2 separate regions of the Homo sapiens genome follow, and region 2 is linked to region 1. Evidence: promoter capture Hi-C in 16 types of primary human blood cells and fetal thymus (Javierre and others, 2016). All regions are on one chromosome and are shown on one strand. Each heading gives the region's core, a stretch centred on a gene start or on the middle of the fragment in contact. The rest is flanking DNA. Distances are from core to core; before and after follow the strand shown. Region 1 holds the start of RAB5A (RAB5A, member RAS oncogene family). Region 2 overlaps TBC1D5 (TBC1 domain family member 5).

Evidence for each region. The method cuts DNA at HindIII sites, captures the fragments that hold promoters and counts their contacts. A CHiCAGO score of 5 or more calls a contact.
Region 2: a fragment that was not itself captured here is called in contact with the fragment with the promoter of RAB5A in region 1 in 1 of 17 cell types (non-activated CD4 T cells); the score reaches 5.1 in non-activated CD4 T cells.

The regions. Positions count from the first base shown.
Region 1 is chr3:19,944,431-19,950,558 of GRCh38, forward strand. It overlaps RAB5A (RAB5A, member RAS oncogene family), which reads left to right and starts at 2,667. Exons shown (of 6, transcript NM_004162.5): 1 at 2,667-3,091. It also overlaps a transcript of EFHB not described here. RefSeq lists enhancers at 1,548-2,149, 2,560-2,729, 2,655-2,824, 2,686-2,735, 3,256-3,305 and 1 more. The HindIII fragment of the contact is 3,439 bases long and covers 1-3,054 here.
Region 2 is chr3:17,736,493-17,742,620 of GRCh38, forward strand. It overlaps TBC1D5 (TBC1 domain family member 5), which reads right to left. Exons shown (of 23, transcript NM_001349074.2): 1 at 5,989-6,128. Among named protein-coding and RNA genes, the nearest start is that of TBC1D5, 3.1 kb to the right of the region's middle. RefSeq lists silencers at 5,626-5,825, 6,056-6,128 and an enhancer at 5,825-6,128. The HindIII fragment of the contact is 1,611 bases long and covers 2,765-4,375 here.

The sequences.
Region 1 (6,128 bases), core at 1,417-3,916:
CTCCACATTTGACACTAAAATATATACAATTATCAGTCCTCCTCAGTTATCTGGGGCTATGAAAAAGAAAACATAGGCATATTGCAAGTGGCAATAAAACAACAGAGCTTTACTGTGTCATTTCAATTTCTCTAAAACTACTACCGGATCTTTAGAAATGCCAGCCACCAGGGCAGCACTCTTCCAGGCAAACATTATGACTAAACTGTAAAATATTGTGAAAAGTATTCATGAAGGAGGTGAAGACAAAATCACTAAACAGGAACGAGTGAAGAAGCAACATACTGGAACGATGAAATAGGGAGTTTTTTGCAATTTATAAATTTCAGCATCAAATGTTTTTCATTGTGAGGTCTTCTTAATGTTCGTGATTCTAAATGTAATTAAGTTCACCAATACTTTGGGGGTCCCTATTATAGCAGTCAAGGGTCTTCTGTGAAGAACTGAAATGATGAATAACTGATGGTCACAGCCCTTAAAAACCTTATAATTCAATGAAAGGCTAAGGAGAAAAGTCCAGGTGCTCATTAGCTATTAAAATAAGGCAGATTTTAAGACAGCCATTATACAGAGTAAGGCAAAGTATTGTGAAATTACAGAAAAAATAATAATTGAATCCAGTAGAAGTATCTGCAGATGCGGTCCAAAGGAACTGGTGTCCTGGCTAAGACGGAGCCAGCAGTTATGGGCAATGATAGTGTTCCATGTGGAGAAAATAAAGTGATCAGATACCAAGATGGCAACACACAGGCAATATTCAGGGAACACAGACCAGATACGTGTGATCAGGGAACAAATAAAGAGTATGGGGAGAGGAATTCTATAGAAATAGAATGAAAGAAACTTGGGTTGGGACTAGAGTTAAAGAACTTTAGACTGTCAAGTAATGACATAGCATTGAACATTTTTTAGTAGAGTGGCTAAAATGTAAAGAATGGACAGAAAGAACAGCAGTATGCATTAATTTCAGTTTATATAAACACTACCATGGACCAGGTGTTGGGATTAGACTTCAAATTTGGGGATTAGATAATTTGTTGATAGAATGGACAATGGTTTGTGAGGAGAAGAAAGAGGTGAAGCTGATTCTGCAGTTCCAAGTCTGGGTGACTGGGAGGATGTTAATGCCAGTCTCTAAGCAGAAGCAGGTTTGGAGTGGAATAGGTTTCGTTTTGGGCATACTGTTGACATGACAAAACTGATGTCACATATCCTATTTCCTGACTCCTCCTGGGATTGTCCCAGAGCTATTACCATGATTAATAGTTCATATTGAACAACTCCTTGAGAATAAAATGCCACAGGTATCATTTACGTATGACACATTACGTTCTTCTGGCAACTAGGTAGTTGATCTGAAAGACGGGCTGTTCAAAGTTCAAATCATCTTAATTGCACAATGCCGCCGACTGTACGCCCATAAGATACCTTAACCCGGTACACTTCAAAGACAATATTCTCGCCCTTACAACAGAGCTATACATTGTAAACTGCAAACTGAAAAGTAGCCTTTATTCTGAAGGAAAATCAATTTAATATTCTTCCACTAAATTATCAAAACAATTTTTTTGGCGGAGGCTGGGGAGGGGGTGGTGGCTGAAGCCTCGCCAGAGACTGAATGTGGTGTGGGATTCAACTAAAGCAGCACATCTTCAGTAGGTCCCCCGTGGAGGGTAACGAACATCTTGGGTTGTCTTTCACCAGAATTGTGTTCAACAACTCACGTTCTGGAGCCAACCCGCCGCAGATCAGAATCCAGCTTCTGCACCACACAGCCGTGATCTCGGACAAGTTACTCAATCTCTTGTGTCTCAAATTCTTTACCTATAAAACATCTACAACTAGAACTGAAGACTTGGCTGCCAGGCACTGGGCTAGACATAGATTTACAGCGGTGAGGACCACCAAGGGGAGCTAAAATTCGAATGTAGGGAACAGACGATTAACAAGTTAGTTTCAGAATGAAAGACTCGAGTGTAAGAATTCAATGGGATAATTCCTGTAAAGCGTTTAGTACAGTAAAGAGCGAAGGGAAATTCTGAATAAAAGGCAGACACTATTTTAGGATTTGGCCTTCCCCGCCCCCTACCAAAACCACGTAAACTCTTAACAGAAGCGACTTCTTATTGTCAGGCGCCTAAAGGCGGCTTTTGGGATAGGGAGGGTCCTTTCTTCCTCCTTGGGGTAAATGCGATTTAGCAGCCTTTACCGACCTACCCAACCCCAGGGCCATTTTGTGGGAGGAGGTTCTCTCGTGCTAGACAAGTTCCCTCTAATAAAGCCCCTTAGCCGAGATGCCAGGATTGGGGTTAGGGAACCTCGCCGCTCCCACAAGGGCTGGGCACAAAAAACAAACAAAAAAACACAAGTTATTTTGATCTTCCCCCAAAGAATAGTAAAGGAATTTCCCCCGACCCCGGCCGCCAGGAGCCCAGAGACCCCCCAGCCTAAATAACAATGGCGCTGGAGAGGGCGTGGCCGCGCGTACCTGGGGTGGGGGAAGGGGAGAAAGGCGGCCAGTTCGGATCTGAGCCACTCGCAGGGTCACGTGACATCCTGCCTCGCCCCGCCCCGCGAACAAACCTAGGCGGGGAGGGATTCGGGAAGGGGCGAGGAAGCGGAAGGAGCAGGCGGACTGGCGATGATGGGAAGTGACGAAGTGGCGCAGTTCGCTGCGTGCAGCGACGTGGCGGCGGGGCCGGCACCGGGCAGCGGAAGTGGCTCCGGCGGTGGGACTTGAGTGTTTGTGTTTTGGTTCGTGAAGGAGCCGGCGGCTGGCCTTAGGGGAGGAGGCAGAGGGAGGAGGAGGAGGAAGAATTAGTCGGAACTCCAGCGCCGGCGGCGGCGGCGGCGGCGGAGGAGGAGAAAGGAAAGAGGAAGGGGGAGCGGCGAGAGGCGGAGACGGAGCCCGACAGGGGCGGCACCACGGCACGAGCCCCGCACAGTCCAGTGTGAGGGGAGCGGCGCTAAGAGCAGGCGACGCCGCCGCCGCCACCACCACCGCCATAGATACACTCTCATCCTACGGGCCACGCCTGGGCCTTGCTGCCAGGAAGCTTCGGCCCCGCAGCTCGGCTTGCTGCGGTCTCAGGTAACCGAACCGCCCCTCCTCCTGCGCAGCGGGGGCCTGGACCCCAGGTTATCCGCGGTCCCCAGCCTGTCCGCGGCCCTGCCGGTACTGAGACCCCCCACCCCTTCTCCCTCACGCGCAGCAGTGCCCTGGACCAGAGAACTATCGAACCCGGCGTCTTGTTCTGCCAGCCCTGGTGACTCATCCTCCAGGGGCTCTGGAGACCGGGATTTGGGGACTGACTGAGGGAGCGACGGGTGTCACCCTTTCCCTTCTCAAGATGGCGCCGTGGAAAGTGTACTGGAGGCCGCGGTTCCGCCTGGTCTCCGTCCTGGCAGTCCTGGGGGTCTCGGTCAAAGCAAGGCAGGTTCGGGGGAGGAGGTTGGAAAGGCCAAGGGACCTGGCGAGTGCTGCTTATCCAGGCGATCTGTAGTTGGCTATTAGCTACTCAGGTGCTCTCCAAGCAGGAACCTGGGCCTACTGCAGGTGTCAATGTGGGGAGCTCCGCCTATCTTCAACTTCCAAAGATGAGTAGTGTCGGTGGGTGGGAGGCTCGTCAAAATAGGCTGTCTAGAGACTTGTTTTCTGTTTGGAAGGTAGTGAACTACAGCGTTAAATAAATTCAAGATAACAGGACCGCTGAACTCCTTCACTGGGTAGAGACCATGGAACTTGCTCTGGCGTTATCTTCCCTGGAAGCTGCTTACCTCTGAGACTTTCAAACTTGTTAAGTTCTGAACGTCATAGTTCACATACTTGGTTTTTGTCTTGCTTAAATGGAATCAAAGCGTTCAATCAGTTGCCTTTCACATAATAAGAAAAAAACACTTGTACACCTCTGGGAATACTCAAGACTGCTCATAAACTTTATTCCTAAAGTAAAATGGAAGTGATAACTCAGCATTTGTATAAACAAAGTAAATGGAACAGTGCCTGGCACAAAATAAGTGCCCAGTCAATTTTTTGATCAAAGAACCCTTAGAAGGATTTTAACTATAGAATGAATAACAGTTATTTTCAAAAGATTACAAATGTATATTATGCAAAATTCTTGTTTTGCAAAACAGAAGTTTCAGTAAGCAGTGAATACAAATGAATGCACGTAATTTTTAACCTTAGTGTTATGCTAAGTGTATATTTACCATTAACTTTAGTTATTTCCTGTTTGAGATCCTTAGGGGGAGTAGCCACAATTAAGTAGCTTTAAACCTTAAAAGTCAAAGTGAAATCAGAATCTTGTTTGATTTTTTTTTTTAATGGGAGTCTGATATTTTCCCTAAAATTTTGGAAGTGCCGTAGAAATTTGGAGCATATTGTCCTTGATAAGTAATTTCTTGTTTTCTTAAATAAAAAGACAAATGGAAAATGTTTTGATTGTGTGTAATATCTGAAGATGTATTGGTGCATTTTCAGTATATATGATGTTCTATTGATATTTTATCATTTTCTTATCAAAGGAGCACATTATTGGCAATTTCAATCCCTACTATGTATATTAGAGATTGTTTACATGTATTGTTTTATTTAATTGTCACATCAGCTATGCAAGTTAGATATTATGGGAATAGAAACTTGGAAATTAAAGAGTTTGCCCAGACGGAAATTGGTATAGCCAGGATTACACCCCTAAATCTGGTATGTTTGTGGAGGAGGGGGCATTTTTATTTATACCTTGTTATTTGGAAGCAACTCAGATATTACGTCAATAAATCTGTAAATATTTCAGTATGTAATGGTAAAAGATAAGGACTCTAAAAAGCTGGTGTTTAGTTAAGGCAAGGAGGTAGTTTCATTGCCTTAAGAACTAAGATCTCGTGGACATGTTAGGGAATTCATTATGAAGAGCGTATTATAAGCTCATTTTATGGGAAAGGCATATTTCTTTCTTTTGTTTTTAATATAGAGACAGGGTCTCACTGTGTTGCCCAGGCTGGTCTCAGAGTCCTCCTGCCTCACCCCCAAAGTGTTGGGATTTACCGGTATAAGCCACTCTGTCCAGTGTGAAAGACGTATTTCTTATATGAGGTAGCTAAATGAAATATAGCAGGGTTTTTAGAGAGGGAATCATCAGGTTTAATATATTAGCATGTATTCGGATTTTGATTAAAGATAGAAGGAAACTGTTAAGATTGGTTTGTGAGTGGATTGAAAAAGGTTCTTCAAATATTCACTAATTCCTTAGAGATTAAAAATTAGCATAGAAGTCGCCATTCAGGCTAGATTTCTTTAATGTGTTGTTTAAATAAAAAATAATGGCCTGCAGGCTGGGCGTGGTGGCTCACACCTGTAATCCCAGCACTTTGCGAGGCTGAGGCAGGAGGATTGCTTGAGCCCGAGAGTTCAGGATCATCCTGGGCAACATAGCAGTTAAGTGTCTCTACCAAAAAATTAGCCTGGCATGGTTCTGAGCGCCTGTAGTCTCAGCTACTCAGGAGGTTGAGGCAGGAGGATTGCTTGAGCCCAGGAGGTCTAGGTTGCAGTGAGCTGTGACCACGCCACTGCACTCCAGCCTGGGTGAGAGAGCAAAACCCTTTCTCCAAAAAAATTTTTTTAAAAATGGCATGTATATTGTTCGTCTAAAGACTACAAAAAAGTTACAATTATTGTAAGTAAATAAGTCAGTAATAATCACCACATGGAGAACAACTGTTAGCATTTCTGTGTATGGTGTGCTTGAGCAGATGAGGAAACAGTTTTAAGTCTGCCGTTAGGCACACAAACCTGGGAGACTGAAAATATTTGTTGTCCAAAATTACCATTAATTAAATGAAAAATGCATCGTTTAACAGAAAACTTCAAATAATACTAAATTTTAGGATCTGTTCTAAAAGTTTCCCATTTATTAATAACATAATTTTTCTCAAAACAATGTTAATCCAAGTAGCCTGGCTACAGAACTTGAACTCGAGTCATCTCTCAGGTTGCCTGGGTTTGAAACTCGGCTCTGTCACTTCTGTGACAATAACTGTGTGACCTCAATTAAGCTTCTTAACATCTCTGTGCTTGTTTCCTCATTTATAAGGATTGTAATAATATCTCATTTTATAGGATTGTTGAG
Region 2 (6,128 bases), core at 2,320-4,819, 2.2 Mb before region 1:
GTTTAATGAATATGCAGTAGACAAACATGGAAATAGTGGCACTACCTTTCCATCTCCTATCAACTCCACGTCTCCAACCTTGTTCCCCAAAGCTCCACCAGGGATCCAAGGCAATCAATCCACTATCCCATCCCAGGATGGCAAGAGATGTAACGTTAGGAACTCCTCTAGAACTTCTGCCAGGTAGCTGCTGGGACACCTCCAAAGTCTCAATATAAAGTCAAAACACTTCCTGGAGGCCTGGTGCAATGGCTCATGCCTGTAATTCCAGCACTCCAGGAAGCTGGGGCGGGTGGATCACCTGAGTCAGGAGTTTGAGACCAGCCTGAACAACATGGTGAAACCCCGTCTCTACTAAAAATACAAAAAAATTAGCTGGGCTTGGTGGCATGTACCTATAGTCCCAGCCACTCAGGAGGCTGAGGCAGGAGAATCACTTGAACCCAGGAGGCAGAGGTTGCAGTGAGTAGAGATCGCGCCACTGCACTCCAGCCTGGGTGACAGAGTGAGACTCTGTCTCAATTTAAAAAAAAGACAAAAAAAACACTTCCCACCTGTTGTGGGAAACTCTAAAGGGGTTCATTCTGATCCCCACTTATCAGCAAACAGAATGCATACCTCTGCAGCCGGTTCCTAAGATATGTGCTTATTCCAACTCCATCAGGTGGGAGCCGTTTTTCTCTGATGTATCTTCCCCATGGTGCTTATGTCAGAAGTGGGGGCTTACTTCTCACTGGTCTAGTTATTCTGAAGACTCACAATTAGAAGTGGGAATCTAAGTACTTTTGGTTCAACCTTTTTATCTTACTTAGGGACAAAAAGTTTAGTAACCCTAGAAGATAAAACACTCCTGCTTAACCAACATGTGTTACTCAGCTTTCTAAACTAATACTTGTGGTACAAAACTGACATTCATTTTGCAGTATCTCTCAAGGCAAGACAGCCCTGAAGAGAACCTTAAGAAATTCTCAACAGTGCAGATAATTATTTTTCATCATTTGTTTTTATAAAATTTCAACAATAGGCATTACTTTCTATAATGGGGGGAGGTGGCTCTTTTTTCTAATGGCAGGCTAACCTAACATACTGTGATTACTGGATCTAATACATGCACTCATAGCAGAATTTTCTTTAGACATACATACACACTACTCTTCCATAAAGTATCATAAAATTACATCATTCCATTTTAAAAAGTCAATCACTCTTCTTCATGTAGCCTTCATCACTAGCAAAAAAGTAAAGGTAAACACTCTTGTCTTAACAAAAAAACTATGATAACATGTAATCATCTGTAATGCCTATTTCAAAACTTTTAAGACTATTTTGTTTCAAAAAAAAAAAAACCCAGTTAACATCTTTTCTAGGCAACTGAATTAAGAAAAAGAGTAAATCTGCAATTACTGAATATTTTCCTGGAGTTAGCCACAGAAACCACATGCAACACTGGACAATGACTGAATGACATTATCTTTAGATGTTTTTCATCCAAACTAATGGACATTCAGAAAAAAAGGTGATCCTGTACTAGGCTTCGCAACACTACCCTTGAAAGATTTTAACCAATCCTTTCACACCATCACCAAAGACATGTTTTTTTCTACAGCCCTACTTTCTTGTTTTGAAAGATCTGAGCTGTCAAACTATATTTATTTGCATTTAATTCTCCAAAGGGATAAGAGCATTACTATACCAATTTTGTATTTTCATCCAAAAAGTACAAACTCTGCTTTCTTGGCCCATAGAGCCTTATCCCAAATAAACTGTACAATCTCCAAAAATATAGTCAGTCTTGATTATATAGATATGATCTACCACACTGTAGATTATCCACAGAATATCTATCACTTACGTGATAGCATTAAGGGCTTTAAACACACACTCACACATACACACACACACACACACACTCTCTCTCTCTCTCTAATTCTCAAAGTTACTATTATTTTCCCCATTTTAAAGATGAGAAAAGTGAGGCACTGTGAGACTAAGTAGCTGACCAGCATGGCATTATAACACATATCATAATCATACAGAATTTGTAAAAATATTAAAATTATTATTAATAGCTGAAAATACCAATTAGAAGGCTTCCATCATTCGGATGTGCAACAAATGCTTCCCTGGGATAACCGTAAGTAATGACTTGGCCATTCAGCTGTGAGGCCCAGAAAGCATGGCAGAGCTGGTATGTCCATGCAGCCCACAACACAGCATCAGGGTAAGAAATAAAAAAGCCAACAAGTGGGCATGCAGCAAGGGTTTCAACTCTATCCTAATATTCCAAAAGAACAAGAGAGAATTTGGGACAATCTTAACCTCTGATGATAATCTCTGAGCCTCTTTTTATCCCTCAATTTATATAATGTTTAATGTTACTAAATCATTGCACAGGAATTATTTTTAAATGTTTACCTAACATTTGTAGAATGATAAACATTTTCCTAAACACTTCACAGGTTTTTGAGAAAGCATTTACACTGAGATTTGTTGTTACACTGACATCCTTCCCAAATTCACCATTATTCTAGTAATAATTGATGCTACTAGAAGCAGCCCACAGGCCCTCTCCGTCAAATGATCTCCCTCCCCTCTCCCAGCTCTTCCACTGCTGACCATCCCACCACCCCGACCTCACATTTCTCAAGTTCTGGTACACACACTGTACACACTGCCATTCCAATGATCTACCCATGTTGAGAGAAATGTCTCAGGATCAGGTGGACTAGCACCACTTCTCAGACTGCTGCTGCTAACAGGACAAAGCTTTCAGTGGTCTGAGACAAAAAGGGGGTTAAGAGAAGGGATTATATATTCATTTTTAAATGAAACATAAATTATTCAACTTACTTTTATTCCGGGGTTGTCCTTCTTACTTTTTCAGCGTTAAAATGTGATAATGACCAATGCTTCATTTTCTGTATCGTCCTCATTGGCCAAATAAAAAGTCAGAAACCCAGTCAATCCCTAAACCTAAAGGTTAGGATAACAAACACTAAATCTACTACGCATACATGTAGGGTGGAGGACAAGCCCAGGCAGGAAATAAAGGAATAAAAAACTTTCAGAGGAAGTAGATACTTTTACATTTAACAGTGACTACTGGTCCAGTGAACAAGTGCAAGCAAAACGAAACTGCAAATTTCAGTATCTCACTCAGAAAAGATTACAAGCACTGAGGCGGATGACAAATTTGACTTTTAAAATGAAAGCAGGCCAGGCGCGGCCTGGTGTGATCCTGGTGGATCACGTCTGTAATCCCAGCACTTTGGGAGGCTGAGGCAGGCGGATTACTTGAGGTCAGCAGTTCGAGACCAGCCTGGCCAATATAGTGAAACCCCGTCTCTACTAAAAATACAAAAATTAGCCGGGCATGGCGGTGGGCGCCTGTAATCCCAGCTCCTGAGGAGGCTGAGGCAGGAGAATCGCTTGAATCTGGGAGGCGGAGATTGCGGTGAGCTGAGATCGCACCATTATACTCCAGCCTGGACAAGAGCGAAACTCCTTTTCAAAAAAACAAAAAACAAAAAAAAAAAGGTAGGCCGAGCACAGTGGCTCACACCTGTAATTCCAGCACCTTGGGAGGCCGAGATGGACACATCACTTGAGGTCAGGAGGTCGATACCAGCCTGGCCAACATGGTGAAACTCCTCCGTCTCTACTAAAAAAGAACATACAAAATAAAATTAGTCGGGAGTGGTGGCGGGCGGCTATAATCCTGGCTACCTGGGAGGCTGAGGCAGGAGAAGTGTTTGAAACCATGAGGGAGAGGTGGCAGTGAGCCGAGATCGAGCCACTGCACCACTGCACTCCAGCCTGGGCGACAGAGCGAGAGTCCGTCTCAAAAAAAAAAAAAAGTCAAGTTCCGTAAAGCACTTACAACAGTGTCCGGCACTCAGTAAGCGCTTCAGAAGTACTGTCATAAATATCAAAGGACTGGAATGAAAATTATAAAAATTATGGTACTAAAAACTTCCACAAAGTTATTTAGAAGTACAACCTCTGCTCAGTCAGTTGGAGTATAAATAAAAAGAAAAAAATTAAAAGTACAACCATTTCTCCATAAAGTGTTATGAAGTTATGTGTGACATTTCTAAACTTTTTAATTTACGTGTGAAAAAATTACATTAGAAAAAACCTGAATCCAGTTAGAACACCCACTGTACGACTCTCAATTGTTTGCAAATTTGCTTCCAAAACTCAGGAATGCACTACTCAACTGAGGCCGCATTTGAGAGCACACACTCAATACTTCCTCCAATAAAAGAAATTTTCATCTCAGCTGTACACTCAGAGACCAGGATTTTTTTCGCCTATATGTTGATAAAACCCAATGACGCATAGCTGAGCAAGTCTTTCACCTAACAGCACACCAAGCTTCTAATGGAAAATTCACAGACCAGGTGATGCAGTCACCATACAGCATACAGACACAATATTTGCACTCTTCCTATCCCCTCCCCTGGAATCCAGACTCAGCCTGCTCACTCTGAAAGCTTTCTCAGTTCATCCTGCCATTTGCCCCTTCTCCCAAGCCACCTCTACACCCGGGGGTGAGTTATTAAAAAGAACATGTTTATTGATAAATACAACACTTTATTTATTTGCACACAAGTTATCCACTTCCTTGCTACTCAAAGATAGTCCCTTGTCCAGCTGCACATGTTATCAGAAATGTACAATATCAAAATGCACCATAGGCCTACTGAACCAGAAAATGCATTTTTAATAAGAGCCCCAAGTGATTCCCACCCACATTAAGGTTTGAGTGTTCTGTGATACTGCAGATAGCTGTAAAAATTAAAAATGCTCAAGTTTACAAATGAATTCAGAGATATGGTATGAAAAGTACCAAGACACGGAATCAGAAAAGCCCAAAGAGAAAAACCAATATATAAATGAATTTCTTTGCCACCGATAGCAAAGGCTCATTTTTCAACAATACCTATTTATTGCTTCCTGCTTTAAGTATTTTGTGCAAGAGCACAACACTTATAAAGGTTTACAAAAGAATTACCGGGTCTAGAAATTCCAGGCAACCTGGTCCAAACGTGTGAAACCTGCATGTTAAAATCTTAGGATTTTGTCCAATTCAGAGTTGACAAATGAACTCTTTCCAGAAAGTTATTATTCGAAAAAAACCTACAGGATGTTAACTTTAAACACAGATTATAATTCCTGTAACTAAAACGAGTAACTGGTATCGAACAAATTCTAGGTCACTTGTAGAATCGAATCTTGTAGTGAAGGTCTGTGTGTTTTTCCAGGAAAAGTCGGGGTGGGGAGCGGGATTTGCCCTCCCTGCGAATTTTTTTTTTTTTTTTTTTTTTTTTTTTTTTGCTCTTATCCTGAAAGACCTCCGTTTCTTACGTGTGAATAAACTTAAGTCGTACTAAATCCAGGTCACGGTTCCCTTCCTCAAAAGTGAAGTCAAGGCTTCTCTCTTCTAAAGACTATTAAGGTTTGAGGATTCAGGGCCCGTTTCGCTTCCGGCTAGGGAAGGAAGCGTGCTTCCCGGGGCCCAAATGAACATGGAAATTTACTAAGTAGGAAGTTGAGCACTAGTCCAGCCGCCAGGCCCTGCCTTTACTGCAGTTGGCCTTCCAGTCTAGACCCCGACCTCCTGGGGCAGGGAAAGCAGGCAGACTGCAAGCAGCCACCCCGCCCAGCTCGCCCTGCCCGCCCTGCCCGCCAGGGAGCTGAAGGGTCCACCCCTCCCGCCATCCACCCCCGACGCCGACTCCGAGGCGCACAAACGGGGGGCGGTGCGGCAACCCGTCCGCCGTGGCGGCGGCACCCTCAGGCCCTCCCGTGAGAAGGCGGCGGCGGCTGCGGCTGCAGCAGCGGCGCGAAGGGGGGCGAAACCTGTCCTGAGGCTGAGTGGGAGGCCGGGGCGGGAACGACTGCATGTGGGGCTGCACTGGAGGAAGGCGGAGGCGTTCAGAGGGCTTGGGCTTTTTTACGATCATCATCATTATTTTATTTTACCTGTGGCGCAGAAGGGCTCCCCAGCTCCTATTCCCTGAATCCTCCTCCTCCTCCCCTCCTCTTTCTCTCTCTCTCCCTCAGTCTGCAGGGCGCTCGCGGAAGCGGCCGGGCCCGGCCCGACCTGAAAGAGAACAGGGCGG